7 separate regions of the Homo sapiens genome follow, and regions 2, 3, 4, 5, 6 and 7 are each linked to region 1. Evidence: promoter capture Hi-C in 16 types of primary human blood cells and fetal thymus (Javierre and others, 2016). All regions are on one chromosome and are shown on one strand. Each heading gives the region's core, a stretch centred on a gene start or on the middle of the fragment in contact. The rest is flanking DNA. Distances are from core to core; before and after follow the strand shown. Region 1 holds the start of EPS15 (epidermal growth factor receptor pathway substrate 15). Region 2 overlaps OSBPL9 (oxysterol binding protein like 9). Region 3 overlaps OSBPL9 (oxysterol binding protein like 9). Region 4 overlaps TTC39A (tetratricopeptide repeat domain 39A). Region 5 overlaps OSBPL9 (oxysterol binding protein like 9). Region 6 overlaps OSBPL9 (oxysterol binding protein like 9). Region 7 overlaps OSBPL9 (oxysterol binding protein like 9).

Evidence for each region. The method cuts DNA at HindIII sites, captures the fragments that hold promoters and counts their contacts. A CHiCAGO score of 5 or more calls a contact.
Region 2: a contact is called between a fragment that was not itself captured here and the fragment with the promoter of EPS15 in region 1, in 9 of 17 cell types (monocytes, neutrophils, naive B cells and 6 more). The highest score is 7.7, in monocytes.
Region 3: a contact is called between a fragment that was not itself captured here and the fragment with the promoter of EPS15 in region 1, in 2 of 17 cell types (neutrophils and monocytes). The highest score is 7.4, in neutrophils.
Region 4: a contact is called between a fragment that was not itself captured here and the fragment with the promoter of EPS15 in region 1, in 1 of 17 cell types (endothelial precursors). The highest score is 5.7, in endothelial precursors.
Region 5: a contact is called between a fragment that was not itself captured here and the fragment with the promoter of EPS15 in region 1, in 2 of 17 cell types (neutrophils and M1 macrophages). The highest score is 6.5, in neutrophils.
Region 6: a fragment that was not itself captured here is called in contact with the fragment with the promoter of EPS15 in region 1 in 1 of 17 cell types (neutrophils); the score reaches 7.1 in neutrophils.
Region 7: a contact is called between a fragment that was not itself captured here and the fragment with the promoter of EPS15 in region 1, in 1 of 17 cell types (neutrophils). The highest score is 5.5, in neutrophils.

What each region holds. Positions count from the first base shown.
Region 1 is chr1:51,517,480-51,521,539 of GRCh38, reverse strand. It overlaps EPS15 (epidermal growth factor receptor pathway substrate 15), which reads left to right and starts at 2,274. Exons shown (of 25, transcript NM_001981.3): 1 at 2,274-2,341. The coding sequence starts at 2,309. It overlaps EPS15-AS1 (EPS15 antisense RNA 1), which reads right to left and starts at 3,268. Exons shown (of 5, transcript NR_183651.1): 1 at 3,094-3,268. It also overlaps a transcript of OSBPL9 not described here. RefSeq lists silencers at 2,051-2,240, 2,391-2,860 and an enhancer at 2,091-3,019. The HindIII fragment of the contact is 8,390 bases long and covers 1-4,060 here.
Region 2 is chr1:51,762,038-51,766,097 of GRCh38, reverse strand. It overlaps OSBPL9 (oxysterol binding protein like 9), which reads right to left. Exons shown (of 24, transcript NM_024586.6): 12 at 117-276. Among named protein-coding and RNA genes, the nearest start is that of MIR761, 72 kb to the left of the region's middle. The HindIII fragment of the contact is 4,533 bases long and covers 1-3,946 here.
Region 3 is chr1:51,741,425-51,745,484 of GRCh38, reverse strand. All of the region lies in intron 4 of OSBPL9 (oxysterol binding protein like 9), which reads right to left. Among named protein-coding and RNA genes, the nearest start is that of MIR761, 93 kb to the left of the region's middle. The HindIII fragment of the contact is 6,462 bases long and covers 1-4,060 here.
Region 4 is chr1:51,304,289-51,308,348 of GRCh38, reverse strand. It overlaps TTC39A (tetratricopeptide repeat domain 39A), which reads left to right. Exons shown (of 18, transcript NM_001297663.2): 7 at 2,273-2,372; 8 at 3,203-3,268. Among named protein-coding and RNA genes, the nearest start is that of TTC39A-AS1, 23 kb to the left of the region's middle. The HindIII fragment of the contact is 761 bases long and covers 1,590-2,350 here.
Region 5 is chr1:51,717,210-51,721,269 of GRCh38, reverse strand. The region is part of intron 4 of OSBPL9 (oxysterol binding protein like 9); the gene reads right to left. Among named protein-coding and RNA genes, the nearest start is that of OSBPL9, 100 kb to the right of the region's middle. The HindIII fragment of the contact is 328 bases long and covers 1,803-2,130 here.
Region 6 is chr1:51,694,543-51,698,602 of GRCh38, reverse strand. All of the region lies in intron 3 of OSBPL9 (oxysterol binding protein like 9), which reads right to left. Among named protein-coding and RNA genes, the nearest start is that of OSBPL9, 79 kb to the right of the region's middle. The HindIII fragment of the contact is 3,269 bases long and covers 478-3,746 here.
Region 7 is chr1:51,670,428-51,674,487 of GRCh38, reverse strand. The region is part of intron 3 of OSBPL9 (oxysterol binding protein like 9); the gene reads right to left. Among named protein-coding and RNA genes, the nearest start is that of OSBPL9, 55 kb to the right of the region's middle. The HindIII fragment of the contact is 5,089 bases long and covers 1-4,060 here.

The DNA.
Region 1 (4,060 bases), core at 1,025-3,524:
ATTCCTTACTTTTCCTGTATGAGAAACTGAAGCTCAAAGAGGTTAAATGGTTTGCCTGCGGTCACACTCTGATTCTTAATATTCTCTTTGCTACTCTGCACTGCCTTTCCGGAAACTACATGGCAGGGTTTCCACCTTATTCATCTGAGAGGAATATCTTACATCTCATATGGTTTGGAGGAGTCCCCTTGAATAGCAAGTGAAATTATACTCCCCAAAGCGATTTGCTCCATGATTTTCAGATTTCATAATTTGTGTAGCTACAAGTTTAGGCACTTTTGTATATGTCATCTCATTCATCCTCACAACAACCCTAAGGGCATACAACTAGTGAATGGGAGAGCCAGGAATGGAACCTGGATATTCCTAATGTCTGAGTCCTATTTATTTCACTATACTATGCTGCTTTGTCTATCAGTTGTATAACCCTGGGCAAATCACTTAGCCTCTGTGACCCTGCATTACCTCATTTGTAAAGTGAGTATGACGATTACTTCCTTTTAGAGTTGTGAAGCTCAAATGTGCTAATATAAAGTAGAAAACACCGGTAGAAACACCGGTTGTGGTTATGGCTGATAAGTGTACCAAAGTGAAGTAATGTAAAACAGTATCTCTTATTCTCTCTTCAGTTAAAGAGATTAGCAGCAAAAAAGAAGCCAAGGAAGATGCTCTTGAATAAGTGGTTACTCACCAGACCTATATGGCTTGCTCTTGTTAGCTGGCCTTTGCCAGAAGGAGTCTGAGTAGAATTAGGAGTTCCTTGGGAAATTTCTGGAATGGTTTGCTTGTGGAGGCAATAGTCTAAAAACTTAGGTGGGGCTAACTCCATCCTGGGTCTTGTTCAGTTGTCCCTCCTACCACGGGGACTGCTATGATAATGGTAATGGGTGTAGGCCTGATAGAGTTGTGGTTTGTTGTAATGGGAAGCCATCGTGACTAAGAAATTAAGACCAATTCGGGCAAATACATTTATTGAGGCCTCTGTGGTAGGCTAAACTATGAGGGAGATAAAGCAGTGAGTCAGCCCCTTGTCCTCAAGGATTTTACAGTGCAGTGAGGTGGAGACAAACCCTCAACTAACGCTTACAGATAAGGCAGAGTATAAAAACGGTCACATCAGAACAACTTAGAGGTGGGGTGTGGAGTTCCTAGAAGGCTTCTTGAAGTAGGTGGTATATACTCTGAGACTTTGAAGATGAATTTCAAGTAACTGGGTATTCCAACTGAAGGTTGGCAGCATCAGAAGGTGTAGGATGTGTTATGTTTAATATAGGCAGGAACGAAGGCCTTTACTGAGCATGCACTGTAATGCTAGGGTCTGACGATATAGAAATATATTGAAAACAGTTCTTGCCATTGAGGAGCTCTTAATCTAGAGGGATAGATAGGTGTAAACTGTCATTAGGGTGATGACTTCACAAGGTAGAGAAGAAAGGTTATAAAGGAGAGTGTGTAACTCTGACATAAGGAAGAGAAAAAGATACTTTGCAAAGGAGGTGAAACTTGAATTATGTCCTGAGAAAGAAGGAGGAGTTTGCTAAGTGGATGATGGGAGAAGCTAGGAGTGCTACAGGCACCAGCGTTCCCTTGTTAAACAATCTAAATGTGACAGGCACCAGGCAAATACATTTTTGCTTCCCCTTTCCAAATGGATTTTGGCTGTGGGAGGGAATGACTTAATGTCTTCTTTTCCAATATACTAGCAGATGGTTAAATATTTACAGTTAGACTTGGATTCTAATTCAGCTATATAATTAGCTGTATGACCTTAGTAAGACACTTATTTGTGTTTCAGTTCCTTCATTCATACAATTCAAAAAATAAGAGTCTAGTACAGAGCCTGGCATATATAAAGTGCCATTATTATTTTCTATCATTATCTCATTTAGTCTTTGTAAGTAACTGGGCCTCTAGTTACAATTTCCCCCATTTTTCAGAAGCAGGAGCTCAGCGTAGGTAGGTGGCCTGTCTGAAGTTCACAGGTCAATCTGCAGTCGCCTCCGCAGCCCGTCCGCTTTAATTTTATGTCCGCGCCGGGTTTTCCAAGGCGGCCCCGGGGGCAGGCTCTGGTCCGGTGGCCGAGACTCCGGCGCCAGGGTTTGGGCGGCGCCGCGGCCGGCTCCGGCGGGCGGGCAGGCGGGCGGGGCCAGGCGGGGCGGGGCGGGCGTGGGGAGGGAAGTTGTGGAAGTTAGGGGAGACGCCCGCCCGCCCGCCCCGGCCTCGCCTGCGGCCGCTCCCTCCGCCTCCTCCCCGCCCCGAGCCCCAGTCAGCCCGTCTTCCTTCCCCTCCCTTGCATGATGGAAACACCATGGCTGCGGCGGCCCAGCTCTCTCTGACACAGGTAACGCCACACGCCCGTCCGCCGGGCTTGGCCGGCCGGTGCCCCCTCCCCCACCGCCCTCAGCTTCGCCGACTTCTTGGCTTGTGGGCCAAGCAGGCAGCTTCTTGGCTTGTGGGCCGGGCGGCCGGTGTGTGTGAGGGAAAGCGGGTGCGACTGCGGGAGGGCGCCCTCCGGAGCCGGAGCCCCCCTGCGGCCGCCGCGACCTCGCCCAGGGTCGTCGGGCGCCTCCTGCCCCGCCCCGCGCGGCCCTCGCCGCCCTCCGCGCCGCTGCCGAGTGGACTGTGACCCGGCCGCGCTCTGCCGGTGCCGGGCCGGCTCCCGCGGGGCAGCTTTCACCTACCCAGGAAGTTTCCTCCCACAGGGCCGCACGCATCCCAGGTGAGCTCCTGTTGAGCTCGCGCGGGCCGGCCGCACCCCCGGGCCGCACGAGGCTCGCCCGCCAGGCCGGCTGCGCGCCGCCCCCAGTAGGAGTTGCCTTCCAGAGCCGGACGCGCAGGCCCCCCAAGCCAGTCTTTCCTCTCCAGACCTGCCTTTCTCCCAGGGTCCGACGGAAGCCCTCCCTTCCCAGAGTTTAATGTAGTTAGCCTCGCCTCCAAAGAAGTCTCATCCTACTCAACTACCCACTCTGCCGGCCCCTTCCTCCGTTCAGCCTCTCCCCCCTCCTGATCAGGTTTCCTTCTGGGTCAGACCCCCAATGCAGCCTTTTGCCACCCACGTCTGCTTCCACTTCAACTTCCCCTCGGGGGGCTCACGCCTGATCGCTGTCCAGGTGGATCCCTTTAACGGGTGTGGTGGCTCCGCCAGTCTTGGTGCCAGGAACGGCCTCCCGGGGAGCACTTTTCTTGGGGGGAATCCTCAGCAAAACCTGTTCTCGAGCTTCCCTCTTGCCTCGTTGCTTCCTGTCAAAGTCCAGTCCTTGTGCTTCTCAGAAAACCTCTAAACATCACTCACACTGGGAACCTGGTCCCTCCCTCTCTGTAAAGAAGCCAATTACAATGTAAACATGGTGTCCGGGATGATAAGGTGACAGACACCTGCCAGTTCCTTCCTGCTCCTGTGACCCAAACTCTCCCCCGCGTCTCCTCAGACGGTTCTCTCCAGAGCTGGTGGCGCGTGCTTCCCGATTGGGGCCCATCCCGTCTTCCTTGCCTGCATTGTGGTATCTCACTGCCATCTTGTACTCCTTGGCCTAGATTCGTCGGTGCTTCTAAGGCTTTAGCGCTGGGATAGGGCAAACATTTCGGCAGTGGAGTTTTCTGTGTTTAAAATCAAGAGGCTTTGGGGTGCTTTGCCTAGCACTGTAGGATAGAGAGAAAAAAATGTTTTCTCAGAAACCAGGAGTCACGTACATGCTTCATGTAAAATAACTAACCCGTGTTTGCAGGAATTCTAAGTGTCATAAGGAAAGTCTATTTCCCAGTTTTTTTGATGGTGGTGGTGGTTGTCCTGTTCTGACAAGCAGAGAACCCTTTAACATGGAATGTGGTGGTTTAGTCTTGGTTATGTATGTTTGGAAGGGTCCTCCCAAAACTCAAATTTGAACAACTACAGCACTGACTTTTAGGTATTCACTTTCTGTGAGTCTAGTTAGTGACTTGCATTAAACAAGATCCCTGTTGGCAGGCTGTTGTTTTCTGGCTCTGTTGGCCAATTCTGGCAGGAGTTTTCCCTTGAAGATTTTGTGCTCTTAAAGACTTCCGTAAAATTGCTTCTCAGTTG
Region 2 (4,060 bases), core at 431-2,930, 250 kb before region 1:
TTTTCCCAAATAATAACTGATGAGGCAAGTCTGTCATTAACACTAGTCTCAAAATCAAATTAGATTTTTAAAAATCAGGAGAATCATTTAAATACATATTCTGTTCATCTACTCACTCTATTAAGCGCTTTGGGGATGAGCCACTTTGATGGAATTCATCAGCATCATAAAATTCATCTTCACTGCTGGAGTAAGAGAACTCTGGGACTGTATTTGGAGACAAGTTCACGTGGCTTGGAGAAGTGAGACTGCTACTCGGTGGTGAATGGCCACTGCCTAGGAAGTTAAAAGGGTTTTAGAGAAAAATATTGGTGAAAGAGAAGAAACTAGGGAGATGGAGTCAAAGCAGACTTTTCTAAAATCAAAAAAGAGTTTGGTTAAGTTTGTAAAAGTCGCTACAGTATTTATAAAGAAAATCAACATTTAAACTCCACACAGAAAATGGCAAATCATGATATAAAATGAGGACACAGCCTTTTAAATAAATGAAACAAAAAGCTATGTCCTCATTCTATAATTAAAGATTATCATTAATACTAGGAAGGGGGCCCTTTTGATTATATGAGTTGTGGAGTTGCAAGTCCAACAACAGATATGATTACAATGGGATGCCGGGACTCTTATTTTACACTGCAGATCCAGATACCTAAAAATGCAGCAGTGAGCCACTGGGAATGCAAAATGAAAAGAATATTAAGACCACATAAACATTAAAATATTGCAGGATATCACATTCCTATCATTCAATATTTTTTGGCAATCACATGGAAAATACACACACCATCCAAATTCCTCTCCTCTTTTCCACCTAAGTCAGGGGCTCAGAGGTGGAGATAAAAATAGAGGACTACGATGAGAAGAATGCAGAAAATGAAAAGATTCAGAAGAACATTTTTCTATTCCTAAATAGTCTAACTAAAGAAATGGAAATTAATGAAGACCCAGACAAAGAAGCCTGCCATCTAATCTCTGAGATGATCATCTGGTACCTTATCTACTAGTAAAGCAAGAACAAAAAAGTATCAAACCAATCGACAAATGGAGTATTAAGATCAATTTAACTTACTGAGCATTTAAGGGCTGTCAGTCAGGCAATTTATACTAATCTACAGATGTCTGGTGAAGACTAAAGTTTATTAAGACACTGATGGCAATCTGAAAGCCAGGGCCACAGTTCTGGAAGAAATTGAAGACAGCAATAAAAATGAATCCAGGCTAGGCACAATGGCTCATGCCTGTAATTCCAGCACTTTGGGAGGACCAGTTGGGAGGACTGCTTGAGGCCAGGAGTTCAAGACCAGCCTGTGCAACAAAGTGAGAGCCCCATCTCTTAAAAAAATAGATAAATAAATTAGCTGGGCATGGTGGCATGTGCCTGTGGTCTCAGCTACACGACAGGCTGGGGCAGGATCACTTAATCTGAGGAGGTCGAGGCTGCAGTGAGTTGTGTTTGTGCCATTGCATTACAGCCTGGGTAAACAGAGTGAGACCTTGTCTCAAAAAAAAAAAAAAAAGAATCCAGAGTCACTTACGGATTTTTTGCCCATTCCTATATGTATGGTTCAATAGTTGTGAAAAAAAGCACATCAGTTTGCCACATTTAGTCATCATATTCACAAAGGTATTTTAAAAAGATAACACAAAAAGTTTAACCCCTAAAAGGTAATGCTTATTTTGGAAATTCCAAAGGTAGCTCACCTTATTAGTAAATAACTTCATATTCTTTTTATTACCCAACAGAAAAAGTAAGAGAGAAAAGCAGCTTTTTCTTATTGGAATAAAAAAAAAATTGATCAAGAATTGCAAATGATTAAGTAGCATGCAAATATTCCAGGTGATCACACAAGTGAAACTGTATCTAAGAAGAAAAGTTTGAGTGGGAACTGCAAACAAAAGATCTGAGATTTACTTAGGAGAGCAAACATTTTATCTTATTCCTTTATTTCTTTTTTGTATTAACAAGAGAAGTAAGGGAAAGAAAAGTGGAGAAAATGAAGTTAGGATGAAAAATCAAATAAGATATAAATCACAGGAATTTAATTTTAAATTTTTCTTTAAATCTACTCTAAAGTGTTAGATTTTTGAAATACCTTCAACTGAAATAGTTTTCAGAAGATTATCTTCTGGAAGTAATTTTTACAAAAATTAATATACATAAGAAGAGCTTCTCACTTTCTCAAAGTCTGTTGCTAGTTTTACGTATTTCCAAACAGAAAAATTTTGGAATTTTGGTTGTTTCAAAATTCCAACATAAAAATACGAACAACAACAAACAGGTACTATTTTTTAAATGAAGAAGAGGTGACACAGCTCAGGAAATACAGAAGTCAGCCAAAATATTTCAATTTCATTATTCAAATTGCTTATCAGCCTTTTCCCAAGAGCTTCAAGTAAGAGAGCTATTTTTTTTCTTTCAAAATTCAAAGGCAACTGCCCATGCTGTTAAATAGTAAAGATCAAAGTAATAGCATCAGTACTTTTACTAATTCGAATTTTTTAAATCACAGGGTAATTATTCATCATTACACAGGAAAAATCCTACCCGGGAAAAAAATCTGAGGATGAACAAAAGGGGCTGATCTCCCACTTCTTCAAGAGTGGTTTTGGTTTTGGTTTCCAGGTTTAACAGTGTGAAAAGTGCTAGATGCTTCCTTGAGTTTGGTTCTACAAGTTATTCAACATACATTTAATTAATTTTAAAACAAGATAAATCTAGTATCTAACACTGATAGTATCCCTGTAAAACAGAGAAAAAATAAAGACCCTAAGCCTAAACGAATTAAGAAAATGCAGGCTGGGCGCGGTGGCTCACACCTGTAATCCCAGCACTTTGGGAGGTGGAGGTGGACAGATCACCTGAGGTCAGAAGCTCGAGACCAGCCTGGCCAACATAGTGAAATGCCGTCTCTACTAAAAATACAAAAATTTGTGGGGCGTGGTGGCGCACATCTTTAATCCCAGCTACTCAGGAGGCTGAGGCAGGAGAATCACCTCAACCCAGGAAGTGGAGGGTGCAGTGAGTCGAGACAGTGCCACTGGACTCCAGCCTGGGCAACAGAGTGAGACTCCATCTCAAAAACAAAAAACAAAACGTTTAAACAAACAAAAAGAAAATGCAAATTAAAATGAAGTATCTTTTTTCTAACTATAAAACTGGCAAAAAGGTGAAAGACTGATAAATGTTTTCTAAAAAAATATACATATGCCAAAGGTGCTGTACAAGGATATCACTGAAGTATTGCTTCCATCAGTGGAAAAAACAAGCAATACCTGCCCAGGCAGCTGTAAAAAGAATGCTGTAGACCTAATTTTACAAACATGGAAAGTGCTCTAAGTGTTCTTTGTTAAAGGAAAAACGCAAGTCACAGAAACACATAACCTAAGTTAGGTTTAAACAAAAACAATAAAAATACACGACATAAGTGTATATGCACATACATGTATGCAAATTACTGGGGGGAGAGTAAAGAGGACTTGCAGTTTTTATTCTGTGCACTTCTGTGTCAGCTTCATAATAAGAAAGTATGCAAGTCTAGCTGGAGTAAATTTTTCAAAAAGTCAACATAGATCACCAAATAAATGTTAAGGTAACAAACAAACAAAACTCTGTAATATTTTATTTTATTTAAATTATTCCAGGCATGGTGCCTCATGCTTGTATAATCCCAGCACACTGGGAGGCTGAGGCAGGAAGACTGCTTGAGCCCAAGAGTTTGAGACCAGCCTGAGCAACATAGGGAGACTCCTCTCTACAAAAATTAAAAATCAGCCAAGTGTGGTGTGTGTGCCTGTGGTCCCAGCTACTTGGGAGCCTGAGGCCTGGGAGGTCAAAACTACAGTGAGCCCTGATCGTACCACTGCACTCCAGCCTGAATGACAGAGTGAGACCCTGTCTCAAAAATAAAAATTTTAAAAACTTAAAAATAAATAAAACTTAACTAAAGCTTCTCTTTCAAACACAAAGCTAACCACTTCATGTATGGAACTATAATGTTAAAACTAACATATCTCCAACAGAAAATATACAACACATTTCTTCAACTTTCCCCCTCCTCATCAG
Region 3 (4,060 bases), core at 744-3,243, 220 kb before region 1:
TAGTACAAAAAATACTTTTCCCTTCATACATGAAGACATTTCAATTTTTAAAATACAGTTCTATTTTGACACAAATAATAGGTCTATTTAACAGTTAGGTCTATTTAAACAGTGGTACATCAATCTTCCTCATTAACTTGGAGCACTGCTTCCCTTCTCAGCAGTTACACATGCTGCTGCTCAAATTGGATTTACTCTTCTCTCCAGAATCACTTTCTTATCTCCCCCAAACCCTGTAATTGGCTCCCAGTCACCACTAGAACAACAGTAATTTAACAAAGGAACATAAACAAAACCCACCTAGGTTACTTCTATTTTCCCCTTTTTCATTCAGTTCATTCCTCCCTTCCCTTAATGTTAACTTCATATTCTCACTGTTTAGTTCTCCCATTCCTCAACCCACCCCATGATCTCTGAAGTTTTCCTCCCTCCTCCCCTACTAAAGAAAGAACCTCTAAATTTTCTCCTCTTCTAAGAGGTGGCCCCTCTCTAAGTGAAAGTAACAACACCTGTCCTAATCAAGTTTCCTACTCACTTTCACCCTTGGCATGAACACTACACTTAGACGTGGTATAGATGTTTATTTATTTAGAAGGCCTACTTATTTCTCGGTCTAAAAGTGCAGCATTTGCATGTCCTACTTTTTGCATACGTAAAGAGTTTAAGCTCCAAGAGCATGGGATTCTTATGTTTTAACTTTAGCCAAAAGAAACTTTTGAGTTCTTAATCTTCTCTGACTGCCACATTTTCATGCCCAGTCATCATACTGTTAAGCAGGGGACTGAGGGTTAGGAACTGCTACTGTAAAAATCCCAACCCAACCACAAAATTCTGCACTAAATGGGTAAAATATACTTGATCAACATACCCATCTCACACTTGACTTTCACTTGTCATCTCCTCCCTGCCTTCGCCCAAAGCATGCTGATTATTTTCACATTCTCATTTTAGTAAACTGAAGCCAAAGTTTATTTTATATTACAGCAACACCTGATCTTTGTATACTTTATCATTAAAGCACTTTTACAACCATTATCTCAAAACATCAAATTAAGATGGTATGGTATTATGGAAACAGTAATGGGCTGGCAAATCTGGTTTCTAATTCTAGTGCATTCACTAACACAATATTGTGGCTGTCCAAATCTGGGTTTTCTTGCCAGCCAAATACGGGCATCCTCCTCCTCCTATTATTAGTACAGCAGCTACTACCTCTACTAAAGACAACAACTAATGACACTATCAATTACTACTATTATAGTACTTTTGTTGCTCTTCCCAAACTAAAATTCAAAAATTTGGAACCAAAGAAAAAATAGAATTTTATTAAAAATCTAAGTCCTATTAAGACCATGGGAAAAATCAACTTATCTCATAATTTGTTTTCTTTTTCAAATTCAAAGGCGATAAATGTCTATTTTACATACATATCAAGAAACTGTTTGACAATGAGTATTACAAAGCCCCTTCCCAATGAGATGACATGTACAAAAACAAAAGTTGAAAAAAAAAATCTTAATAAACAATGTATACAAAATCCAGATATATTTATAAAACTGTGTTTAAACTTCTTCATTTTTAAAGATAACCCAAAGAAGTTCCTGTTAGAGACATTTAAAATATACAGTTTGGTGACAAAAGACATAGAAATGGATAAGTACATCATATTTCATAGATATTAGAGTACTGTACTATGAAAGAAATGAGCAACTTATTTCCATGTTACTGTGCCACAGAAAAATCAGGACTGTTTGGCTTGTTTTTTGGTTTTGTTTCACACAGCAATGTAACATGATTATCAATAATTAACTATCAAGACCCAGTTAAAATCAGCTAAATACATTGTTTTTAGTAAATATTTTAAAAGGTTAATGGCATATTCATAAATGAATAAAAAAAGCATCTAAATGAGAGGGGAAAAGTGATCTTTAAGTATTTTCACTCTTCTGAATCCATTTAGAATTAACATTGTAAAAATCTAACTAAAACATCCTTTTTAAACAAATTACCGATTAGATTAAAAATTGTTCAGTGACTGAATGGAAACAGATTTAAATTACTGCTATCTAAACCTTACCTAAATCAATTCTTCAGAAACAACTTTTTGATGTTTGTAGAATCATATAAACCTCACCTTGACTCTCTTCTTACACTTGCCTCTAGATAGTCTTCCATAACCTTCTTTTAACTCTAGAATAAACTTCACACTTCACAAGGTCCAAGCCAAAGATCTACTCATCAATCCATTTTTCTTTAGGTAATGTGTAACAGGAGGTTTATAATGACAGTCCCAGAACTGGCCCAATCACCCTTGCATAGTAATGCAAAAATTTTTCATGTATTTAAAAGGAAAATTTATGTATATAGTTGCCCCATCTGCAACCAATAAAATATCATGTAAAATTCATCGATAACATGAACAAGTAGTTAACAAGTGTTTTCTCAAATCTAGTAAAACTAATACTCTAGAAGAAAGCACAAGTATGACTTTATATTGTGACTTACAGCAGTCACCTAATTCAACCTCCCATTCACAGAAGTTCTTTTCATAACATCTTTGAAAGTCATCTAGTCTTGTCTTAAGTATCTCATGAGATGAGAAACCCACTACTTCCTAATGTAGAATATTTCATTAAAATTCTCCTGAAGTGTTAACTGTTTCTCTTTCCATTCAACATTTAGAACACTAAGCCACAACACTTATTCATATTAATCCTTTTTAATGGAGATTTATTTTTATTTATTTTTTGAGACAGGGTCTTGCTCTGTCACCCAGGCTGGAGTGCAGTGGTACAATCAGGGCTCACTGCAGACTCAACCTCCTGAGCTCAGGGAATCCTCCCACCTCAGCCTCCCAAGTAGCTGGGACTATAGGCATGTGCCACCAAGCCCAGATAATTTTTTATTTTACTTTTTTTGTGGAGACAGGGTCTTGCTATGTTGCAAGACCCTGTCTCCGCAATAAAATAAAAACTCCTGAGCTCAAGCAATCCTCCCACCTCAGTGTCCCCAAAAGTGCTGAGATTACAAGGTGTGGGCCAATGCGCCCGGCCGAGTTTTAAACAGGACTAAGAATATAGTCCTTTACCATATTGAGGGTGGTCTGTCTTTGAAAAGAACTGAGAATAGGGCAAATTCTTTCAGACAGTGTGACTTCATACTTCTTACAGTAGCTTTTGAGAACAAGTAAGCTGGGAGTCAAGTAGATACACATTCTAGTATTCTGTACTTGCTCTAACATTTATCACATTTTATCATAATTGAATATTTGAGTGACTTCTCTGAAGGATTAAAACTCCACAAGGGCAGGAACTATGCCATTCATTCATCACTATACCCATCAGGGCCAGCTCAGTGTTAAATGAACACACATGGCGCTGGCTACAGTGACTGGAAATTGTTGATGCCACAACATCGGTCTTCCCCCGACCTCCTCTCCCGAGATTTCTCTTACCTTTCTGTTCTCTTTCTCCTATTCTCTACTCCCTCAAGCCTTTTCTCCATGTTGTCTTTCTTTCTCTTTTGTCCAGGTCCTTCAGTAGTAACTGAAGGGATTATGTCGCATTATTGGCACTCAGGACCAAAGAGGTTGCTGCTCTTTGGTTTATTACACTGATGTGAGCCACAGCTCTAATTAGATGATTCCTGTATGAATTCATTTAAAGTTTAAATTATACACAACAATTATAGAGAAATAAAGACAAAATGGTCTGTGATGTAACAAGAAATTAAATTAGAAGAATCTCAATAGAAATTAAACTTCAATCTAACCATAAAATTTAGAAACCTATGTAAAGAAAAACCACTTCTGTGGTGAATATGCTAAAAAAAAAAAGTCTCTGTTTTTCAAAAACACTTTATTAATAAAGCTACTCTAGCCTGGGCACAGGGTAAGACCCTCAAAAAAAAAAGAAAGAAAGAGAGAGAAAGAGAGGTTGGGGGAGGGAGTGGGGAGAGAGGGAAGGGAAGGGCAAGGGGAAGAGGAAGTAAAGAAAAAAGGGAAGGAAAGGAAAGGAGGAAGGAAGGAAAGAAGGAAGGGAGAGAGAGGGAGAAGGAAGGA
Region 4 (4,060 bases), core at 721-3,220, 210 kb after region 1:
AGAATCGCTTGAACCAGGGAGGCGGAGGTTGCAGTGAGCTGATATCGTGCCACTGCACTCCAGCCTGGGTGACAGAGCGAGACGTCATCTCAAAAAAAAAAAAGGGGGGGTGGCGGCAAGAGGTTTATAGAGAGTAGATAAGGTTTGAAATATGAAGAGGATTATGGAGAAATCACTATGGAAACAGCACAAGAGTGACTGGCAGTACGGAGAAGCCCAGCTGAAGCTGGTGATGATAAATTTACAGTGACAGCAATCTTACTACACCTGCTCAGTAGTCCACATGCACCACAGAGAAGGCAGATAATTTACTTCATGCTTTTTCCATCAGGCAGGAGAGATAGAGGAATAACATGGCAAAGGGGGCTAAGGATAGATATGAAGCTGTAGACCAAAAGACAGAGAATAAAGTTTTACTTTTACAGGAGGAAAAGAATTCATGGCGATGGATATTGGGGATAGTTGCATAATAATGTAAATGTAGTTAATACCACTGAATTGTACACTTAAAATTGGTTAAGATGTTAAATTTCATGATATGTATATTTATCACAGTAAAAACAAAATGAAAAAAAGAGGAAAAGTAAAAAAGTCTTTTTTTTTTTTTTTTTTTTGAGACAGAGTCTTGCTCTGTCGCCCAGGCTGGAGTGCAGTGGCATAGTCTCAGCTCATTGCAACCTCTGCCTCCCAGATTCAAGCGATTCTTCTGCCTCAGCCTCCCGAGTGGCTGGGACCACAGACATACGCCACCCCACCTGGCTAATTTTTTGTATTTTTAGTAGAGATGGGGTTTCACCACATTGGCCAGGCTGGTCTCGAACTCCTGACCTCAGGTGATCTGCCTGCCTCGGCCTCCCAAAGTGCTGGGATTACAGGCGTGAGCCACCACGCCTGGCCTATTTATCATCTTTATCTCCCCATTTAATGTGGCTGCTTCCCTGCAGGGATATTGTGAGCTTGTTACAAGGTATTGCTAGGGTATAATGTACCATATAGCATGTGGACATCATGTTACCTTGGAGGCCTATGCTAGAATTTTTCTAGAAAAACCAGACAAGTGCTCTGGCCCCGTCAGCCTCCCTACCAGCTGCCAGAACGAGGTCACCAAAGCACACACCTTGTCAGGCCACCCCTTGCCAACTCCCAAGGCTCCTCTTGCTCTTAAAAGAAGTCCTGGGTTATTGCCAAGTTCTTCCTGGGAGGTCACCCTGGCCCTTCTTGCCACATCTCCCACTTCACTCTGCCTTAGGTCATTGGGCCTTCCCCCAGTTCTTCAAATATGCCAAGGTGGTTCCGACCTCAGGGCCTTTGGACGTGCTGTTCTCTCTGTCAGAAACACTTTCTGCACCGGGCTTTCTGTACCAGATTTCAGCTCAAATGTCACCTCCTCAGGGAAGCCTTTCCTATCCCCAGACTAAGTCAGGCCCAAGGACTCTTCTCCTTGGAGCCTGTCATCACCCTCATAGTGACTCAATCGGGGGGCGGGGGGGGGGGGTCTGTCCCTTAAAGTGAGAATGCTGTGGGGGCAATGGCTTGGTGGTTTTGGTCCCTGCTGTCTTCCAGTGCCTGGCACAGAGAAGCTTCAAGCTTGCTAATTGAAAGCCTTCAAAATGCTGTCAGCCCAGGAAGGAGGCAGACACATCATTAAAAGCCTCTGTCCTGCCCCAGGTGGCTGGGCTAGGGGCTCTGTGCAGTTGGTAACCAGGAGAAATAGAGTTGAATTCCAACCAGGAGACTCCAGGAAGACTTCCTGAAGGAGGAGGTGTTTTGGTTAGCCCAGTGGTTTTCAGCTAGGGGTGACTTCCCCCTGTGAGACTTTTGGCAGTGTCTGGAGACATTCTGGATGTCCAGCTAGGGAGACGATGCTACTGGCATCTGGTGCTCAGGGGCCATGGATGCTGCTAAACATCCTACAATGCACAGAACAGCTCCCCTGCCACCCCCACCAACAAAGAATTATCCAGCCCAAAATGTCAGTAGCGCGGAGGCTGAGAAAACCTCTTTTAGATAGGATGTGGAATACGAACAAATGTCCAGAAGCTGCCCATGGCTGAGTGTGCCAGGGCCCATACGGCTGAAATTCAGGGGGTGAGGAGTGTGTTATCATGGTGGGAGATGGGGTTCGAAATTCCTCAAATACCAGCTCTCAGGATTACCAGAACTGTATGAATCCACCACCAGGGAGTTTACCTGAGGCCCAGCTGGAAGGGGTCCCAGCCCCTACCCCCCACCCCCAGCAGTGGCTGAAACAGGACTTGGCATCTCTCTGCAGGGAGCTGGACAGCCTTGTTCAGTCCTCACAATACTGCAAGGGTGAGAACCACCCGCACTTTGAAGGAGGAGTGAAGCTTGGTGTAGGGGCCTTCAACCTGGTGAGTGCTCCTCCTCCATTTCCACAGCACCTGGCTTGAGCTCAGTCTCCCCTTCTGTCCCTGACTCATGTGTGGTCACTGCCAAGTGCCCCTGCACCTGGCTGTGTGCTGGGCACCAGGATCCAGAGGTGACCAGACATGTGGCCAGCCTTCAGGGGCTCACAGCTGGGGTGGGGGTGGTGTGGGCGCTGGAGCCAGCTCCAGAGTCCATCGGTGCATTTCTTCCCAAGTCAGGCCAGTAGCTTGAAATCCACCATGGTGGAACCTTCACAGCACCCGACCTTGGCACACACAATAAATCAGGGCTTTCTCTGCCCTGGAGAGCTGCTGGTTAAACATTTACCAGTGTCAGGGAAGGAGACAGTCCTGAAACCAGCTGATGACTTAGAGGGGACAGAGAACTAAGTCTTGTTCCTGCATGGAGTGGGGGAAGGTTTCCTACGGGAGGGGGTGAGCATCTGTGCTGGCTCCTGAAGGATCCCTAGGAGTTTCCCAGCTGGGGAGGGGCTTCCAGGCAGAGGGAGCAGGAAGGCTGGGAAAACTGCCTGATCAAGGGAGGAGGAGCTTCCCAGGGAAGATTTAGCCTCAGGAACCTAGGTGGCCAGGGGTTTCCTGGCTAGGCTTCCTGGCACCTGCCCATGGACCCCTGATATCTTAGCTGCCATCTACTGCCCGAGCTTTGGAAAACATTGGCTAGAGGCTTTCAAAGTTAGAGGGGTGGCCCTCTCCCCTCCAGGTAAAGCCTGTTAAAGAGCTAGACTTGGGACAGTGGGGGTGGCCCCTGCCCACTCTGGGTACCTTCACAGGCTTGATTGCCTCCTTTCTTGCAGACACTGTCCATGCTTCCTACTAGGATCCTGAGGCTGTTGGAGTTTGTGGGGTTTTCAGGAAACAAGGTAACCACCTGCCTCCTAGCACCCCTGACCTGCTCAGCCCCAGAACTGGGGCTGGGCTGCACAGGGTGGGGCTGACAGGCCACAGGGCCTAGGAGCCCATCCTGGCTCAGCCCCTCTCATTGTATGGCCCTGGACAATGCCCAGACCTCCCTGGGCCTCAGTCTTCTCTCTGGACAAATGGGGCTAGTGATCCCTGCCTGGCCCTCCCAGGGTGCAGAGGCTCTGGGTGGGTGTGGGTGTGAAGGGCAGCTCCATCAGTGGCCCAGGATCACACATTCTCTGAGCCTGACAGGTGTCAGGGGCTGGTCCCTCTCTCCCTAGATACTGCCTCACTTTAAGACTTTGAGTAAGTCCTTCCCCCAAGGACCATTTTCTGGTGCTACCACTTCATCCAGCAGATGCCTGAGGGAAGCCCTACTGGGCATCAGACCTTGAGGAGGAACCAGAGAACTCAAGCACCCAAAGACTTTACTGAGGGCAAGAACCTGAGTACCAACCCCAGGTTGAAGGCAGCAGATCAGGGAGGGCTTTCTGGTGGAGGAGGCCTAGTGTGGTAGAAGGAGCACTGGCCTGGAAGTTAGGAGCTCTGGGTCAGTCCAGCCTCATCCCCTTTTCTCTGTGACTCTGAGCAAGTCCCTCTCTTCTTTGAGCCTCTTTTTAGTAAAATAAGGGCCTTGTTAATGGACCAGATAAATGTTTCTCAAACGTGCACTGGCCCTTACTGATATTTGCCACACCCACGGACCTCTCTATTATAATTTATATATTACTTTTCTCAAAAGTGACTCATGA
Region 5 (4,060 bases), core at 717-3,216, 200 kb before region 1:
CCAGCCCACCCTGTTCCCTTCAGCCCTCCCTTTCCCTTGTATACTCTTATAACCTTGTATACAAGGTATCATGGCCTTTCTCTCTAGGGGCTTTAGATAAAAGCTAGTGACGACAAAAAAAAAAAAAAATTAACATAAAATTACAGGCAGTACCAATGAAATTCCAATTTCAGCCAGGTGTGGTGGCTCATGCCTCTAATCCCAGCACTTTGGGAGGCTGAGGCAGGTGGATCACTTGAGGCCAGGAGTTCAAGACCAGCCTGGCCAACAGGGTAAAACCCCATCTCTACTAAAAACACAAAAAACTAGCCAGGTGTGGTGGTGCGTGCCTGTAGTCCCAGCTACTTAGAAGGCTGAGGTGAGAGGACTGCTTGAGCCTGGGAGGTCGAGGCTGCAGTGAGCTGAGATTGCACCACTGTACTCCAACCTGGGAAACAGAATGAGACTCCGTCTCAAAAAAAAAAAAAAAAAAAAAAATTCCAATTTGATAACCACCAAAAATAAAATCTACATGAAGTAGCCACAAAAACCATACATATGAGGACAATTAATGCCCAATTTCTTAGCCCAAAGAATAATCATAGAAACCATTTAAATTTTTGAAATATCAACTGATGTATAGCATAAAGTTAAGAAACATAAAGGTCAGTCAGGCGCGGTGGCTCACGCCTGTAATCACAGCACTTTGGGAGGCAGAGGTGGGTGGATCACAAGGTCAGGAGATTGAGACCATCTTGACAACATGGTGAGACCCCGCCTCTACTAAAATACAAAAAATCAGCTGGGCGTCGTGGTGCACATCTGTAATCCCAGCTACTTGGGAGGCTGAGGCAGGAGAATTGCTTGAACCTGGGAGGCGGAGGTTGCAGTAAGCCGAGATCACACCATTGCACTCCAGCTTGGGTGACAGAGCAAGACTCTGTCTCAAAAAAAAAAAAAGAGAAAAAGAAAGAAACATAAAGGTCTATACAACTCAGTTAAACATCTGCATGAGCATCTTCAAACTTGAATCTAAAATACTTGAATCTACAACAATCTCCTGTGTTTTCATTCCTGATAGCCTATAAAAATTTGTATAGCCACACACTGTTACTCAGCTTAGTAACAACCTTAAAACCAAGTTACTTCATTGCCCATATTTGTACTTATAATCAAACTGGCACAACATACTACTTGTCATAGAAGTGACACTGACCAAGTAAATGGCATATCTATATGAAGTCAAAGCCAACTGACCCCATGGCATGTGCTATGCCAAGGAAGTCTTCCCAGTAGTTAGAACAGAGAACACATCATCACGTTCCACATGGTAGTGTACGTATGTCATAGTTTAAAAGAATCTATACCCTAACGATGAGTACCATTTGCACATTGTAAGTAGTGACCCACTTTTAGCAAGGCAATATCATTCATCACATTAAATTAATGTTAATTTAGATTGTATTGCTTTGTATTATGTTTAACTTGAAATTTTCTTTTGGATGTATAGTTCTATAAGATTTTAAACCTAAAAAATTTACACCTGGCTTTATGTTTGCCCACATTAAATAACATTATACTTAATACTTTACTTATATATTGGCATTCACAGCCTGCAAGAGTTTTTTCTAAAATGGGCCCCAATTTACTCAAGTTTATAAAACTGATTTTTATACCTGTATGACATCCAGACAAGCTGCTATAACTCATATTTTTTACAATATAGGAAACTATAAAACCTACAGGATGTAACATCCTGAGTCTTCTTGTGATGATCAATCCCTTACTTGATAATCTCTCAGCATTTAGTTTGTACTAAAGCTTACTAGGGTTAAAAAAAAAAAAGAATCTGAAAAGTTCCCCTCTATTAATCAGTATCATCAGATATCTACTGAATGCCTCTTACTGGTTAAGAAAGAGAGGATTAAGAAGCACAGCACGCCCTCTGGTCTCCCCTTCAAGGAACTTCCTCTTTGGCTGAATGTAAAGACATGAAAAGATACCATAAGCTGACATACAACAAATTTAGAATGACTACTGGAATTCAGCTTCCATAAGAGCCGAAAGGATGAAGAAGATCTTAGTTATCTTCTGTCACCTTCAGTCTATCCTAATTACAATTTGCTTTGGGGAGGAAAGAGAAGACAAGCTTAGTCTTAGCCATGCTGAAGTGGAATTCCAGGGAGACATCTAACTGGCAAAATCCAAAAGGAAAAAAAGTGAGACTAAAGCTACATATCAAAAGAGATATAAAGATTAGGGGGAAAAAGAGTCATCTTACAGAAGGTTTAGCTGAATCCATGAAAACGGTGGGGGCTGCTGAAGGGTGATGGAATTAGGTCACAATCTGCAAGAAAACATCCTGTGGTCAAGGTAATGTATGTAGTGTTAACCTTGGGAAAGAGCAAGAATATGTTTTCTTCGAAATATTCAAAGCAGAGAAATAAAGTACAGGTGAAGTCACTAAGAACTGTTGAAGAAGAAAGCCTTCATTTATGAAGAAGGGAACAGGCTATAATTCGATACTGATTACAATGAAAACAGTCTACTGTGAGGATTCAATTGGAAACCAACAAGAAGTCAGTAAGATGACTACTAAATCGTAACAGATACCCAGTTAAAGTCAGACAAAAATTGTGATAGATACAACCATCTTGCTTTTGTGACCTCTAACAGTTCTAGAAGCAGAAAAATCAGACAACGGGGGCCCTGGGGAATGAAGACCAGAATGGTATACAGACGAACTATCCAATGACAAGAAATTCTAAAGGTGATAGCAAAAACAATATATAAATTTTTAAATTTTTGTGGGTACATAGTAGGTATATATATTTTTGGAGTATAAATATTTTGATATAGGCATGAAATAAGTAATAATCACATCAGGGTAAATAGGTATCCATCACCTCAAGCATTTATCTTTTGTGTTACAATCTAATTATACTCTTCTAGTTATTTTTAAATGTATAATTACTGTTGACTATAGTCACCCTGTTGTGTTATCAAGTAGATCTTATTCGTTCTCATTTTTTTGTACCCATTAACCATCCCCACTCCCCCTACACTTATACGCCCAACCACCCTTCCAGCCTCTGGTAACCATAATTCTATTCTCTAGCTCCATGAGTTCGATTGTTTTAATTTTTAGCTCCCACAAATAAGTGAGAACATGTGAAGTTTGTGCCTGTCTTATTTCACTTAACATCATGACCTCCAGTTCTATTCAAGACAGGATTGCAAATGACAGGATTTCATTCTTTTTCACAGCTGAATAGTATTCCATTGTGTTTATATACCATGTTTTCTTTATCCATTCATCTGTTGGACACCTGGGTTGCTTCCAAATCTTGGCTATTGTGAATAGTGCTGCAATAAACCTGGGTGTGCAGGTATCTCTTCCGTATATTGATTGCCTTTCTTTTGGATATATACCTAGCAGTGGGATTGCTGGATTATATGGTAGCTCTATTTTTAGTTTTTTGAGGAACCTTCAAACTGTTCTCCACAGTGGCTGTACTAATTTACATTCCTACTAATAGTGTATGTGGGTTCCCTTTACTCCACATCCTCACCAGTACTTTGTTATTGCCTGTCTTTTGGAAAAAAAAAAAAAAAGCCATTTTAACTGGGGTGAAATGATATCTCATTGTAGTTTTGGTCTGCATTTCTCTGATGATCAATGATGTTAGGCACCTTTTCATATACCTCCTTGCCATTTGTATGTCTTCTAACAAAACCAGTGATAAAGCAGCAGACCAGAAGGTCTCCACTGGGAAATGGGATGAGCAAAACAAGAAAGTACTAAATGGCCAGGAAAAACAGAGAAGTAGGGGTCAGATCAAAATGAGAGAATAAAAGTTCAGAAGTAAAGTGATAGAGGAAGATGAAGAAAAGAAAACTGTTGTCAAAGAAAACGCTTTTTAACTTAATATTTTGCAGGTGGTTCAGCTCTTAGTAATGACAAGACCAATGGAGTGGAGTTTAATGGCTAAAGTAGATAAAGTTCAATGAAAAAGGAAAACATGGCTGGGAATGGTGGCTCATGCCTATAATCTCAGCACTCTCAGAGGCCAAAGTGGGC
Region 6 (4,060 bases), core at 863-3,362, 180 kb before region 1:
GCTTGCTTTCCATCCTCTAAGCCAGTGGGCTCCAAATTTTGTTTGACTGCGACCCACAATAAGAAGTACATTTGATAACTTCAGCCAGTTCATACATACATATGCACACATATGTGTACATATGTGTACATACACATATACATATAAACTGGAACATTCGTTTCATAAAAGAGTGCTTGCTCTTATTATATGCCATACACATTGATATTTTTCTGTCTGTTGTAATTCATTTTTTTAAAATGCTGATTTGGGCCCACTAAATAGACCTTTATAATCCATTAATGGACTGCAATCCAGTTCAGAAAACACTACTCTAAGCCACCCCAATGTCCCACAAAGCTGTTGCTTTTTAGTATCTCTTAAGCTGCACAGTGTAAAGGCCAAGAGGGCTGACTCTTGGGTCCAAATCCTCGTCTGATACCTAGCTTTGACCTTATTCATTCTGACCTTGGGCAAGATACTTAAATTCTCTAAGCTTTACTTTTCTCATCTATAATCTAAGGATGATAATATTACCTATGGGGATGGTAACAGTACCTCGGCCTTATAAGGTTGTGAGATTTAAATGAGATAATCTGTACAATATTTACCACGATGCCTGACATACATGAAAATACCAATATGTTATTATTATCACATGTTCTATCAATCCAACAGAGAAAACTAGTTCTACTAATCCAGAGAACAATTTGCCAGAGAAAATTAGTAGAGAGGAGATTACTGGTAACTCCTAATTCTCAATAATGCCTGGTTTATATGGAAACAATATAAGGTGCACAGAGGAAAACAGTATTTATCTAGTATGTAGAATACATTTTCAGGATTTTATCATCTTTGCTCATTTATTACATATCTAATCACATTTTCTATATTATACACATTTGAATAAGAATATGAAGTTATTCAAAAGATTTCACTCTTCCAGCGTAACTCACACAACCTAAACTACAAGAAGTAGCTTTTAGGACAACTTTCTAAAACTCCTATACCTTACCATTCCTGATCCACTGCTTAGGAATCTGTCCTCCTAAAGTCATATCTTCTCCTTTAAGACACAAACAACTGTGAATATATTACTGCCTGTATACAAAATAAAGTGGTTATTTGCCTGTTCTGCAATTTAAGTAAAAAAAAAAAAAAAAAAAAAAAGTAACCCCTATAATCAGGAAGGCCTCCTTTTCTCTGAAAGTTATTGTGAAATAAAAACATTACACAAAAACCACATTTACAAGATTAACTGCTGAGACACTGCTCAGGTAGCTACTGAGCCCCAATATGCACGGGGTACTATGTTTGGTATATGAGCAAGGATAAAACAATTCATGATCTCAAGTAATTAAGTCTCCTGAAAAGTACAATAACTTGGGTGGGTAGTATATCGTTTGGTGAGGTATTATCTTCACGCTTTTTTCTTTTTTCTTTCTTTTTTTTTTCTTTTTTTGAGAAATACGGTCTCACTCTGTTGCCCAGGCTGGAGAGCAGTGGCATGATCATAGCTTATTACAACCTCAAATTCCTCAGCTCAGGCGATCCTCCTGCTTCAATCTCCCAAGTAGTTAGGACCACAGGCACAAGCCACTACGCCCAGCTAATTTTTTATTCTTTTAGAGATGGGTGTGGGGCTGGGTCTTGCTATGTTGCTCAGCTGGTCTTGAACTCTTGGCCTCAAGGGATCCTCCTGCCTAAGCCTCCCAAGCAGCTGGGATTATAGGCATGAGCCTATATCCCAACTATCTTCACCCATTCTATCAGCCTCTGTCAACTAAGCAAAAAAGATAAAAATAAAAAATAAAAAAAAACGGGACAGGGGAGCTTTTAAAGAATTAAAGTTAGTTTTATTTAGAAGTCTTACTGAGGACTGTTACCTAGGAGAGTCTTTTAGAGAATTTTTGTTAGACTGTTTCAAAGTAGGGTTTTAGACACAGTTTATAAATTGGTGGTGGCAGTTTTGTATGTGCTTGTAAGTTATAGTAGAGCAAAATCTCATTAAAGTTTGGGTGTAAGGGCATATCTGGTTATATATTACGGAGGCATAATCACTAATCTTGTTGGACATTATCTTACGTGCAGAAAGAGGCAACGACTAGAATCACTGAACTTGCCTTTTCTAAAAATGCAGTGATTTAAGCTGGAGATGTGGGAAACTGTGTTCTATCTTATTTATTGTCTTTAGGGCTTTTTGTTGTTGTTGTTGTTGTTGTTTTTAGAGGACTGTGCTCAGTCACTGAGTCAGGGCCTTTGTGAAATTTTGTTGGCAAGGGATTTTGTGAAATTCTGGCAAGTAGAACAAGCAAACATCAAACATTCTCATTTTCTTAAATTTGCTGCTTTGTCTCACACCTCTAATATCTTTGCTTACTAGAATTCTATTCACTCTTCTGGGCTACGCTACAATGTCACTTTCTCCACCTATGTTGCTCATGGTGAGAGCAGCTGCTCTCTCCTTCCTTAAATTTATTCAAATATTCCAATGCTCAGGCAATATATAAATACATACACCATGTACCAGTCATTGTCTTAGGCATTAGGGACACAAATTGGATCAACAGTTTAGAGCTCTAGTCCAGCAATAATCAGCGTCCAAATCTACCTTCCCGGTTTTACTTTCCCACATACTCTTCCATGAACCACTACATTCTGTTAGATTGTATGTACTGTTCACATGACACGATTCTCTGCTTTTGCTCAAGTTGTTCCCTCAGCTGGAATGCCTGAGCCCCATCTCTAACTGTAAATAATAAAAGCTAAACCTATTGAGCATTTAATTTGTGTCAGCACGGTTCTAAGCATATAACATGTATTAACTAAATTTTCACAACAACTACATGAGATAGGTATTATTATTATCCTTATTTTCTAGAATAAGGAAACAGAAAAGTTTAGTATTTCACAACGACATAGCACCTAAAAAGCAGCAATGAGAATGGAATCTCTAGGCTTCAGACACCCCTAGTTCCGTTAAATAAACTCACCCCATCCCATTCTGTTTTCGCTGAACAAAGTTCTTCTTAAGGAATAACAATATAAACTTTTCCACAGTTTGGAGATATTATAGCAAACAGAAAGAATGAACGACAGAAACTCTGGTCAGGAAACTTGGGTCCAAAAGGGGTTAATATCACCAACTACCTCATGGTTCCACTGTGAAAATCAGGGGAAATAAGGTATGTAATAACACTGGGAATCCAACGAGATTGGGGTCCTCAGTGCAAAACTATTTTCGTACTAATACTGAAACATAATCTGCGTTTGTCATGTTTGCAATGATGCTGTAAGAACAATGGTGGTAAAACTGCTGGCACACGAGCACAAATCAAGGCAATGGCACCAATCAGAACTGGTAGTCACTAAATTCTTTACCACTACATGCTTGCAGGGAAAAATAAAACATTACTATTTCTTTTAAGAATGCCCTTGAAGAAAAGCAGTAAACATCATCAAATTTTGACCCTCGAGTAAATATTTAATACATAGTCTCTGTGACAAATGGGAAGCACATATAAAGTACTTCTGCTACACACTAAAGTATAACGGTTATCTCAAGGAAAAGCATTTGTGCAAATGTCTGAGTTGGGAACTAATGGGCACTTTGTTAACAGAATATCATTTTTACTACAAAGAACAAATGACAAACTAAATTATTCACTCTCGGGTGTTTGGCAAACATTTCCCCGAAAATGAATGAAGTGAGTTTGTCATTTCAGGAAAAATTGACAACATTTATTGCCAATTATAAAATTCAAGCTTGTAGGCAAACATTAGAATTTTGGAAAACATGTATTCACCAGCCACCACGACCTTGACAGATTCTGAAAACTTAAAGCCTTTTCTGATTAGTTTGGAGCAATATCAACAAATGTAATTTTTTTATGTCATAAAATGAAATGTGTCAATATTTGGAAGATCCATATAATTCAGTAAACCGATTTGATTTTCAAATAACCAACGCATGATGTTACAAACTCATACAAAGCATAAAAGATCTATTCAAAGTGCCACACAAACCAATGGATTTTAATGTAATAAAAATATTTTCATATAACGTCATTAATACAATTTC
Region 7 (4,060 bases), core at 764-3,263, 150 kb before region 1:
GAGGTCCCTCACCACTACCTCTGCTCTCCTATATTCTCTATTTCAGATGCTGACAGTGAGGCACAATGGCTAACACCTGAAATCCCAGTAATTTGGGAGGCTAAGGCAGGAGGATTGCTTGGGCCCAGGAATTCAAGACCAGCCCTGGCAACATAGTGAGTTATACCTCAATAAAGTTGATTAAACATACACACATATAAATTTTAACTCAAAAAATAACTATTACAATAAAAATTTTTTATTAAAAAAAAAATTAGTCAGCCATGGTGGTGCAGGCTAATTTTTTTAGTAGTTCCAGCTACCTGGGAGGCTAAGGTGGGAGGATCACTTGAGTCCAGCAAGTCGAGGCTGCAGTGAGCCATGATCATGCCACTACACTCCAGCCTGGGTGACAGAGCAAGGCCCTGAAAAAAAAAAAAAAAGAAGAAGAAGAAAACAAAGGAAAGAAAGAGAGAGGGAGAGGAAGGAAGGAAGGAAGGAAGGAGTTGACAACATCCAACAGTAAGCCAAGCCAAGAGCATCACCCTTAGTACCCAAATTCTCTCACCTCCCATTTCTGAGCAATTACCAGTTCCTACAGATTAAAAAAAAAAAAAAAACTTTTTTAGAGACAGGGCATCACTATATTGCCCAGGCTGGAGTGCAGTGGCTATGCACCAGGTGTGATCATAGAACACTACAGTCTTAAACTCCTGGGCTCAAGTGGTCCTCTGGCCTCAGCCTCCTGAATAGCTAGGACTACAGGTGCATACCACTGTGCCCCAGTTCCTATAGATTTTTTAAAATCTCAAATCTAGTCCATTTTCCTCCCTATTATCACTGCTTTAATCTATTTAAGGTCTCATCAACAACCACAGCTATGTTATAACACTATGAATAAACTGCCCATGCTCCAAGCCAAAGACACTGCTCCCACCTGTGTGTTAGATCCCATTCTCTCTTGCTTTCTCCAGGACACTGATCCAGCAACTCTCTCCTTTCTCTCTTGCATCATCAATTCTTCCCTGTTTACTGAATCACTGCCAACAACATAGAAATGCTATTATTTCTCTTATCCTACAAAAACAAAACAAAAGCTCCCTTGCTCCCATTTCCCCTTCCGGTTACTGCTATATTTCTCATCTTCCCTTTACATCAAAACTTGAATGCACTGTCTCCACTCCTATCTTAAAATCACTCTTCTCAAGGTTACCAATAAACTTCTCAGTATTAAATCCTGTAATCATTTCTCAATCCTCATCTTATTTGATCTGTCAGTAGCATTTGACATAGTTGCTGATCCTTCTCTCCTCCTAGAAACACCTTTTCTTGTGGCTTCCAAAGTACCACATTCATTTGGTTTTCCTCCTCCTTTTTGGTTGCTTCTTCTCAATCTCTTTTGCTGGTTTTACCTCATCTTGCGCCCTCTCAATAAATGTTTGAGTGCCCCAGGGCTCTGTAGTTGGACCTCTTTTCTCTCAACATTTATTCCCAAATTCTTGTGGCTTTCAATACCATCTATGTGCCAATGACTCCCAACTCTATTTCTGCAGACCAAACTTTTCCACTGAACTCCAACTGCCTACTTGACATCTCCATTTGCCTATTTGGTGGACATTTAAAACTTGTTTAGTAAACATGTCCAAAGCTAAGCTCTGATGCCCACATTTCCCTCACCCTCCCAAAACTAGTTCCTCCTGCAATCTTCCACTTCAGTTAATGGCAACTCCATTCTTGTTACTCAACCTAGACTTGTCTTTCTGTCATATGTTACAGCTCAACCTTCAGAATAAATATACTGTCATACAATGAAGTATTACTTAGCAATATAAAAGGAACTATTAATATATACAACAACATAGATGAATCTTAAAAACATTATGCTGAGCTAAAATAAAGCCAGAAAAGAGAGTACATATGGTATGATTCCATTTATGTGAAATTCTCCTAACAAAACATCTATTCTACAATGATAGAAAGCAGAAAAGTAGTTGCCTGGGGCCGGGGGCTGGGGCTGGGGACTGACTGACAGGAGCATAAAGGAATCTTTTGGAGTGATGGAATCTATATCTTGATTGTGGTGGTAGTCATGAGTAAATAAACTGATTAAAATGCCTAACTGTATATTGTGTACATTTTATTGTATGTTAATTACACCTCAATAAAGGTGATTAAACATGCACACAATTCGACCACTTCTCACTATCTCCCCATCTCCACTGCTACCATGTGGGAGCCACTACCACCTCTCTTCTGGTTTACAACAGCCTCTTACTGCAGAAATAGTTTCCCTACTTCTGTCCTTGCCCCTCTGAATTTTACTCCCAACACAGTGGCCAGAGTCATCCTGTTAAAACATAAATCACACCATGTCACTCCTCTGCTCAAAACCTTCTAATGGCCTTTTATCTCAGTCAAATTCAATGCCCTTATAAAGGCCTCATATGGTTGGACTTCCTGTGTCCTCTCAGATTTCATTCTCCATTACTCTCCACCCATGGTTATCTGCACTCCAGCCAGAGCTGACCTCTAGCTGTTCTTCAAATATATGAGTATAAACTACAAAAAGAAAAACAAAACAAAGTATATGACTGTGTTGGGGAGGAAGGCAGGGTGGGTACGTCATTCCAGGCAAAGAAATGATGTATTCACCCCACCTCCCCCACCAACATAGCCATATACTTTGTTCCCTGACTTTCTTCAGCTCTTCACTAAAAAGGCACCATCTCAGTGAGTCTTTCCCTAGCTACCCTATTTAAAATTTCAACACTTCCCCTCTCCCTGCAACCTCACCTCTATTTCATTTTCTCCTTTCGTATTTTATTTTTTTCTCCCCAGGACTTATCACTCTCATTTACTTATATTTTACTAACTTATCATGTTGATCGTGTTGATTACCTTTCTCCTTTCCTGGAATGGATGACTCAAGGGGCAAGGAATTTTATCTGTTTTGTATACCACTGTATCCCCAGAATAATGTCTAAAATAGATGTTGAATGAATAAATGAATGTATCTGAACAAACTCTAGCTTTCCCTTTAATAGTTGACAGTAGAATTTGTTTTATAATGCATCAACTGATATTTCATTTGCTTAAAAAAAAACTGGTGTATTCAATAAAAACTTCAGCACATTTAAAGATATGTTCACATATATAGCTAAAATTTGCTTTCAATTCTAATCAAGAATTTAAGATCTCTCAGACACTGATAACTTTGTATCAAATTTGCAGGGATTTTATGATCAAGGACCTATGAATGTGAAATAGCTCTCATTAACGAAAAAAAAATACAGTCTTACCAAGTTCTTTGCAAAATCCAGATCTCATGCTAAAACTCCCATAACTACTACAATAGAAAATAAACTAATTATTCTGACAGTTTCAGAACTATGAATCCATTTTTAAAATGTGCATAACTCTTATCATTTAAATCCTTCCTGAGGAATATTTCTTGTTTTATAAGCCAAATAAGTATGAGAGTGCCAAAGGGGACATAAATAATTTAAAAGTAAATCAGAAGGTAGAGGTACAGCTTCTGAGGGTCCAAAGGAGGTGTCTCCTTCTTAGTAACTGCAGAGAAGAGAATTCCATACTGCAGCCTTACCTGCACCCAGCAGCTCTTTCTTGAAATGCATTAAAATATTCAACTTCATTCAAGTAAAGAGTTCCAGAGTGTAGGAATTACCTGCTGATTTATAGGCAGCATTACATATTTAACTTAAAAATAAAAACTCTGGGCTTTCATAATAGGATTTAAAATGTTTTATGAAGTTAAATATAGTAGAAAATTTCAGGACAGCATCGTTATTAAAGCAGCTCTGAATAAATTATATCATCAAACACAGTAAATATTTTAAGGTTATGTGGAAGAAAGCATTAGAGATATCACTATTGAGTACACTGGTTTAGGTTTGTTGAATATAACCTGCATCTTTCATTACTATCTGTCAATTTCTGAAAGAAGACAATGAAGAAAAATAACTGCAATTCACTATCCTAGCACAAAAAGACAACAGCTGCCTAAACACCTCATATAACATATCTGGCCTCTGTTAGACTTCATAACCAAAACATTTTTAAG